Linked DNA regions of Homo sapiens: all the other regions are linked to region 3. The links are contacts of gene promoters, found by promoter capture Hi-C in blood cells and fetal thymus (Javierre and others, 2016). All regions are on one chromosome and are shown on one strand. The core of a region is centred on a gene start or on the middle of the fragment in contact, and the rest is flanking DNA. Distances in the headings are between cores, read along the strand shown. Region 1 overlaps CCDC34 (coiled-coil domain containing 34). Region 2 has its middle 63 kb from the start of CCDC34. Region 3 holds the start of LGR4 (leucine rich repeat containing G protein-coupled receptor 4).

The links. Contacts are between HindIII fragments. The CHiCAGO score rates a contact against its expected background, and 5 or more counts as called.
Region 1: a fragment that was not itself captured here is called in contact with the fragment with the promoter of LGR4 in region 3 in 1 of 17 cell types (erythroblasts); the score reaches 6.3 in erythroblasts.
Region 2: a contact is called between a fragment that was not itself captured here and the fragment with the promoter of LGR4 in region 3, in 1 of 17 cell types (erythroblasts). The highest score is 6.0, in erythroblasts.

What each region holds. Positions count from the first base shown.
Region 1 is chr11:27,343,297-27,346,092 of GRCh38, reverse strand. The region is part of intron 3 of CCDC34 (coiled-coil domain containing 34); the gene reads left to right. Among named protein-coding and RNA genes, the nearest start is that of CCDC34, 19 kb to the left of the region's middle. The HindIII fragment of the contact is 1,139 bases long and covers 872-2,010 here.
Region 2 is chr11:27,298,551-27,301,250 of GRCh38, reverse strand. No RefSeq gene overlaps it. Among named protein-coding and RNA genes, the nearest start is that of CCDC34, 63 kb to the left of the region's middle. The HindIII fragment of the contact is 1,090 bases long and covers 805-1,894 here.
Region 3 is chr11:27,471,506-27,474,205 of GRCh38, reverse strand. LGR4 (leucine rich repeat containing G protein-coupled receptor 4) reads left to right here and starts at 1,416. Exons shown (of 18, transcript NM_018490.5): 1 at 1,416-2,088. The coding sequence starts at 1,904. LGR4-AS1 (LGR4 antisense RNA 1) reads right to left here and starts at 2,475. Exons shown (of 4, transcript NR_131170.1): 1 at 2,374-2,475; 2 at 1,249-1,428; 3 at 1,010-1,038. RefSeq lists silencers at 1,643-1,692, 1,823-1,992, 2,243-2,302. The HindIII fragment of the contact is 11,499 bases long and covers 1-2,700 here.

The DNA of each region.
Region 1 (2,796 bases), core at 192-2,691, 130 kb after region 3:
AATTTCCATATTTCAGTTTTTTTAATTGTTGGTAGTTTTTGTATTCTATTTAAGAAATGGCCATCAGAGAAATGCAAATCAAAACCACAATGAGATACCATCTCACACCAGTTAGAATGGCAATCATTAAAAAGTCAGGAAACAACAGGTGCTGGAGAGGATGTGGAGAAATAGGAACACTTTTACACTGTTGGTGGGACTGTAAACTAGTTCAACCATTGTGGAAGTCAGTGTGGCAATTCCTCAGGGATCTAGAACCAGAAATACCATTTGACCCAGCCATCCCATTACTGGGTATATACCCAAAGGATTATAAATCATGCTGCTATAAAGACACATGCATGTGTATGTTTATTGCGGCACTATTCACAATAGCAAAGACTTGGAACCAACCCAAATGTCCAACAATGATAGACTGGATTAAGAAAATGTGGCACATATACACCATGGAATACTATGCAGCCATAAAAAATGATGAGTTCATGTCCTTTGTAGGGACATGGATGAAGCTGGAAACCATCATTCTCAGCAAACTGTCGCAAGGACAAAAAACCAAACATCGCATGTTCTCACTCATAGGTGGGAACTGAACAATGAGAACACATGGACACAGGAAGGGGAACATCACACACCGGGGCCTGTTGTGGGGTGGGTGGAGTGGTGAGGGATAGCATTAGGATATATACCTAATGCTAAATGAAGAGTTAATGGGTGCAGCACACCAACATGGCACATGTATACATATGTAACAAACCTGCACGTTGTGCACATGTACCCTAAAACTTAAAATATAATAATAATAAAATTAAAAAAAAATGTTTGCCCACCACAAGAGGGTAAAAATACTCTCCACTGTTTTCTTCCAGAAGCTTTATAGCTTTAGCTTTACCTGTATGTCTATTTGAGTTTAATTTTAATGTATAGTATGCATTAACGGTCAAGATTCATTTGTTTGCATGTGGATATCCAATTGTCCTAACAATATTGACAAGATAATCTTTTCCCTATTAAACTACCTTTGGCACCTTTGTTTAAAATCAATTGACCACATATTTATAGGTCTGTTTCTGGATTCTAGTCTATTCTATTGATTTATATCCTGTGCAGTACCACACTAACTTGTTAGTATAGTTTTATAGTTCTGAATTTTATTATTCTTGAAATCAGATAGTGTAAATCCTCCAGGTCTTCAATTCTTTTTCAAACTTGTTTTAGTTGCCCTGCATCTTTCCATATACAGTTTAGAATCATCTTATCAATTTCCCTAATAATGCCTGTCCTAATAGTGCTTGGCACTATTGGGATTCTGCTAAATATAAACACATAGATCATTTTGGAGAAAATTCCTATCTTAATAATATCAAATTTTAAATCTATAAACATGGTTTTTCTTTCCAGTTATTTATGTCTTCTTTAATTTCTCTTAGCAGTGTTTTTTAGTTTTCAATGTATAGCAGTATTTTGTTAAATATATTTCTCAGTATTTCATGTTTTTGCTGATGAGGGCAGTTATCTTGCCTTGTTCCTGATATATAATATATATTTTATATATTTACACGTATGTACAACACAGGTTTATAGCATATATGTAATGTACACATGTTTATAACATGTAACAATGCGTATAACACAAGTAACATGTTATAGCATATATGTAACACACATGTTTATAATATATAGCATACATGTTTGTAACATGCAGCATGCATGTGTTTATAACATGCAGCATGCATGTGTTTATAACATATACATATGTTTATAACATATATATGTTTTTTTCCCAGCCACACTCATATGGAACGTTTCTGATATCACCTTGTAATTTCCATGCCTGGTTTTGATGTCAGAATAATGCTGGACTCTTAAAATGAGCTTTGATATGTTTACTTTTTCTCTGTGTTCTAAAATCATTTTTTTAAGGTTTGATACTATTAAGATATGCCACAATAATATTTTATGTTATTAAAATATGGAGTATCTTTAACTGTAATGGAATCAACTAGTGAAGCTTTCAGTGACTGGAGTTTTTGTAGGAAAGTTTTTAATTTTGAATTGTTTTTATAAGTAGAGGATTATTCAGACACTACTTTTTCTCGAATTCATTTTGGGAAGTGGCATATTTTAAGGAATTTTGACATTTCATTTAAAATATTGAATTTATTGGCATAAAATTGGTTTTAACATTCTCCCATTTTGATTTCTGTATGATGTCTGTGTGATCTGTCACTCACCGTCTCTATGACCTTAGGCAAATTAGCCTCCATGTGCCTTAGTTTCCTCCTTTGTAAAATGGGATAATAATGGTATCTACCTCACATCATGATTATAAGAATTGAGAGTGTGTACAAATAAAGTATGTAGAATGGTAACAGGCATAGTTAGCACTCAATAAATGTCAGCTGCTATAATTAAAAACAATGTAAGAACTGGTTGATTTCTTATAGGTAAAGTTGTGGAGGACAGTCATGAGTCACATGGAGATTAAGCAAGATGTACTCCAAGGTCCTTTTCAATTTGTAGATCTTCTGACAGTTTGAAGTAGTTAAAATCCAGTATTGTTCCAATGGCTATTGAGTTCTCAGCATGAAAAGATTCTGTTTCACAGCTATTGGCTGCCCAGCAAGAAGGAAATACAGCAACTTTGATACAACTTGGGGAATTACTTGAGCTTTGATTTTTTTTTTTTTTTTTGAGACGGAGTCTTGCTCTGTCTCCCAGGCTGGAGTTCAATGGCACGATCTCGGCTAACTGCAACCTCCGCCTCCTGGGTTCAAGCAATTCTCCTGCCTCAGCCTC
Region 2 (2,700 bases), core at 100-2,599, 170 kb after region 3:
CTTGTGGATCAGTCATGAAATGAAATACTCCACAGAAGTGAAAATAAAGAAACTAACACTATACACACCCACATGGATAAACCTCTGGAGCATAATATTGAGAAAAAGAAATGAGTCAGAGTATAATCAGTATGATTCAATTTACATAAAATTTAAAACTAAGCAAAACTAAATGATACACTGCTTAAGTCTACATACACAGGTAGTAAAACTATAAAGAATGGCTAGTTTACACTTGGGTGAGAGGGAGAGAGATACAACAAGGAGGTGCACAAAGTGTGTTTGAAGGTATCAGTAGCGCTCTATTAACCTGAGTGATGGTTATACGGGTGCTTGTATTTTCTTTTTTATTTAATTTAATTTATTTTTTTGAGACGGAGTCTTGCTCTGTCGCCCAGGCTGGATTGCAGTGGTGCGATCTCCGCTCACTGCAAGCTCCGCCTCCCGGGTTCACGCCATTCTCCTGCCTCAGCCTCCCGAGTAGCTGGAACTGCAGGAGCCCGCCATGACGCCCGGCTAATTTTTTGTATTTTTTAGTAGAGACGGGGTTTCACCGTGTTAGCCAGGATGGTCTCGATCTCCTGACCTCGTTATCTGCCTGCCTCGGCCTCCCAAAGTGCTGGGATTACAGGTGTGAGCCACTGCCCCCGGCCTGTATTTTCATTATTATTTAATTTAAACAAATATGTTTATATTCTTTTCTATGCATAACATTTCACAATTCAAAATAATTAAGATAACGACAAGCAAGAGAGAAGTTATTTGATGGAGTAAGATCCTTAAGGCAGTCCACTGGGATAAGCTTCAGAACACAAGCAAGTGGACATTTCTTGAACAGAAAGAAGGGCAACTTCTCTTCTGAGAGCAGAGCAAGTAGATCCAAGGATGGGAACCAGATGAAGTAATGCTTTCAGGTCTCTGTATGGAGTAGGAAACTATGGCGAGAAGCAAGTTGGGGGAATTCAAGTCTGACGGACTGCCTTTTTCAAGAAGGTGGCGTGGTCTGCTGAGAATGAAGGGATAGGTTTGGATAGGAGGCACGAGGTGGGTAGTGGGGGCTTTAAAGAGTATTTCACCACGCCTGTAATTCCAGCACTTTGGGAGGCCAAGGCGGGGGGATCACGAGGTCAGGAGATCGAGACCATCCTGGCTAACACGGTGAAACCCCGTCGCTACTAAAAATACAAAAAAAAATTAGCCGGTTGTGGTGGCGGGCGCCTGTAGTCCCAGCTACTGGGGAGGCTGAGGCAGGAGGATAGCGTGAACCCGGGAGACAGAGCTTGCAGTGAGCGGAGATCAGGCCACTGCACTCCAGCCTGGGCGACAGAGCAAGACTCCGTCCCAAAAAAAAAAGAGTATTTCACAAAGTGGATCAGGTAATGCCATGGATAATACTTGGAGGTGATTTTCATGGCTACATAGGTGTTTTTAAACTTTTAACAGTTATGAGATTATTTTAATGCTTTTTTTTTTTTTTTTTTTTTTTTTTTTTGAGATGGAGTCTCGCTCTGTCGCCCAGGCTGGAGTGCAGTGGCGCAATCTCGGCTCACTGCAAGCTCCGCCTCCTGGGTTCACACCATTCTCCTGCCTCAGCCTCCCAAGTAGCTGGGACTACAGGCGTCCGCCATCACGCCCGGCTAATTTTTTGTATTTTTAGTAGAGACGGGGTTTCACCATGGTCTCGATCTCCTGACCTCGTGATCCGCCCGCCTCGGCCTCCCAAAGTGCTGGGATTACAGGCGTGAGCCACCGCGCCCGGCCCCGCATTTTTTCATTTTAATAGTTTTTTGTTTAATGTGTATTCATGAAAAATGGCATGTCAAATCTCATATTTCATGGATATTACAGTACTTACAAAGCAAAAGTGATGTTAAAAGTTGAGTTAAAGAAAGCTTTTCAGTAAATATTAGCTCAGGTGCTACTTTAATATGGCAAAAATCTTGAAGGTAGAACTCAAACACCTAAAATTTGGGAAATTTTGATTTAAATAAGATAATCAATGATTGTGAAAAGAGGAGCACTATGGGTGAAAAGTCTAGTGAGCGGTGGTTAGGACCCAACTGCACCTAAAATCCCAGCTTTGTAGTGGTTTAGCCCTTAATTTTTAATTTAGAAGCCTCTGTGCCTTCATGACAGTGTTGCCAGTAACTGCTAAACAAAATTGGATGTGTCAGAATCAAAATAAAAAATTGAATTTGCAATCAAGATAAGCAAAATAAACTGGAGAATGAGAGGTATAGTTCGTTCTTGAACTCAGCACCTCCCGCTCCTGTTGTTGGATTTACTGCCATATGGGGAAAAATATATATAATCATGATAGTATCATAGCACAGTCATAAAGGTATGAACTCTGCTATGGAAACAAGCAGGAGTTGCCAACCAGGGGAGCTGGAAAAGACATTTTTGAGGTGACATTGTAGTAGGTGGGCAGAGTCTATGAAAAACTCAGGAAAGTTGTATGATAGAAGCTCAGACACATGCAAAGGCATGATGAGTAGGCAGTACATAAGAAGATCCAAAAAAAACCTTCCTAATTCAGAGGAACACTTAGGGGTCTGCCTTGATATTGAAATGTTCTTCTAGTCATTAGAATCTTGCATTTTTACTCACATTTTAAAATATCCCTTTTAAACTGTGACACCATTTCTGGGAGGTTTAAGGTAGGAAGCTGTTGTTATTGCTTAGGTTGGTTTGTCACCC
Region 3 (2,700 bases), core at 167-2,666:
TTATTTACATACGATGGCTAGTCAACTTTATATGATAATTATCTTTAAATCCTGCTTTTTTTTTTTTTTTTTTTTTTTTTTTTTGAGACAGAGTTTTGCTCTTGTTGCCCAGGCTGGAATGCAATGGCGCGATCTCCAGCTCACCGCAACCTCCGCCTCCCGGGCTCAAGCAATTCGCCTGCCTCAGCCTCCCGAGTAGCTGGGATTACAGGCATCTGCCACCACACCCGGCTAATTTTGTATTTTTAGTAGAGACGGGGTTTCTTCATGTTGGTCAGGGTGGTCTAGAACTCCCAACCTCAGGTGATCCGCCCGCCGCAGCCTCCCAAAGTGTTGGGATTACAGGCGTGAGCCACCGCGCCCGGCCGAATCCTGCTTGTTTTAATGTATTCATTAAAAATGTCTCCATTATAGAGTAAAACGACTCAACGCCATGGCAGAGAGCAAGAAACGAAGTACCCTTAAAGCCGTAGTTGGTACAGGTAATGATTCCGTGGGGTCTATTAGGCCACAGGGACTCAAAATCCAGAAGAGGAGGGAATGCTGATAATTACCTAACACCAACGTTGCTGCTGGCTTCTCAGCCGTAGTCACCTCCCACTCAGATGTTTTGGAAATTGTCCAGTGTTCAGAAACATCACTTTCTCTGACCTTTTACAAAATTCCTGTGTTTCAGGATTTTAAAGTGCGTGAGAAAGGAGTCTAATTTGCAGTCACCAAAAACACCAAATACAGAGAGAGGACTGGGGAGAATGAATTGCTAAGACTTAGCTACCAAATGTGTATCAAGATAGGTGTAAAGATCCCAGGTGAAGTGAGGCACTGGAGAGGGTACACTTTTAACTTAGTGTATAGCTAAAACCCAAAGATGTGTGTCAGATCGAGGGAAACTTTTTTCCTCCTCTTCAAAATCTTTTTTCCGTTTGCAGAGCTCCAGACGTCCTCGCCCTTTGGAACAGCGGAGAGTCATTTAAAACTTAACTGAACGCTGGAGGGAAGTTCTACTTACCAGGTCATCCAATTTAGGAGATCCAATTTCTGCGGAGGGAACAAAAAGACGGGTGGGGGAGGGAAAAACTAGACCCCTTGTCCTACTATCCTTCTACCTTCAATCCACAACCTGCCAGACAAATCCAGCCAAGTCAAGATTTTGCCTTGAACCACCACCACCACCACCACCACCACCGCCGCCACCACCACCACCACCACCGCCGCCACCACCACAACCACCACCACCTTGTCACTCACGCCCGAGAAACACGCCCCTCTGGTCCTCCTCTTGGCCAATGGCGGCTCTCCTCTCTGCATAGTAATGAGCTCGAGACCTCCCCGGGCCAATGGCGCTCCGGGAGAAGGGATACTTTTGCATGTACCTAAGTGATTTGCATAAGCCAGCGGCCGGGGGTTTGGGAACCAGAGCGTGCAACCCTAGAAGGGAAAAGGACGGGAAGAGATTGAGCCGCGGCTGGGAGACAGCGAGCCAGAGTCTGGGTGTTTGTGCGAGAGCCACGGCGGGGGCTGGGGCGAGTGGCCGGCATGGCTGAAGGCTGCGCTCTGCAACCTTGAAGAGCCGCTGCATTGAGAGGCCAGGGACAGGGAGACCGGTGCGATGGCAGAGCGCGGCCCCCGCCGCTGCGCCGGGCCGGCCCGGCTGGCGTGAGCCGCCGGAGGAGCGGGGCTGCCTCTGCGCGTCCATGGAGCAGCGGGAAGGGCGAAACTCCGGAGCGCCGCGTCCCTGCGCCGCTGCGGCGGACTGCTGAAGGGGCCGAGCCCGCGCGGACCGCCGAGGAAGAGACCCCCGCTCCAGCCCGCAGGCCGGCTGCCCGGGGGCGGCGGGGGACATCGGAGGGCAGCGGAGCGAGCAGCGCCGCGGGAGAGGCCGGCGCGGGAGGCGGCCGCAGCAATGCCGGGCCCGCTAGGGCTGCTCTGCTTCCTCGCCCTGGGGCTGCTCGGCTCGGCCGGGCCCAGCGGCGCGGCGCCGCCTCTCTGCGCGGCGCCCTGCAGCTGCGACGGCGACCGTCGGGTGGACTGCTCCGGGAAGGGGCTGACGGCCGTGCCCGAGGGGCTCAGCGCCTTCACCCAAGCGCTGTGAGTGCGGGCGGCGGGGACGCGAGGGGGGGGGAGGAAACGGGGCCCAGCGGGGGGCGCCGCGGGGCGGAGCCAGGGGTCAGTCCCACCCCACCCCGCCCCGCCGCCGCCCGGGCCTGGGGAGGGGGTCCGCCGGTCACCTGCGTGCGGGCTGCCTGGCACCCACTCCTGTGCCACGGGCTTTCCGCACTTTGCTAGTCCGGGTTCGAGCCAGCAGTAGCTTTCGTTCCCAGACTTTTTGGGCACAAGCACCCTCCCACCCCACCGCGCACACCCCCAACTCACAAGTGCATCTGGGGCCAAGAAGGAGGAAGTAATCTAAAAACGCTTGCCCCTGGCAGCCTGTCCACGCGACCTTCCCTTCTCATGAGGGCCCTCGCTCAGCGGGCAGGAGTTCCGCTACTGGCGGGGCTGAGGGCGCCGAGAACTTGGCCTCAGTCTGCATACCGAGGCATGTCTCGTGGGGAAGCACCTGGAGCCTCCTGGGTTCCAGCATGTGGGGAGAAGAAACACCTGTACCTCAGTCAGGGCGAATCTCCTTCCAATTTGGCCCCATCCAGGTAGTGCGTCCCGGCACCTACCTCGGCCCAGTTCCACTCGGGACTACCCCAC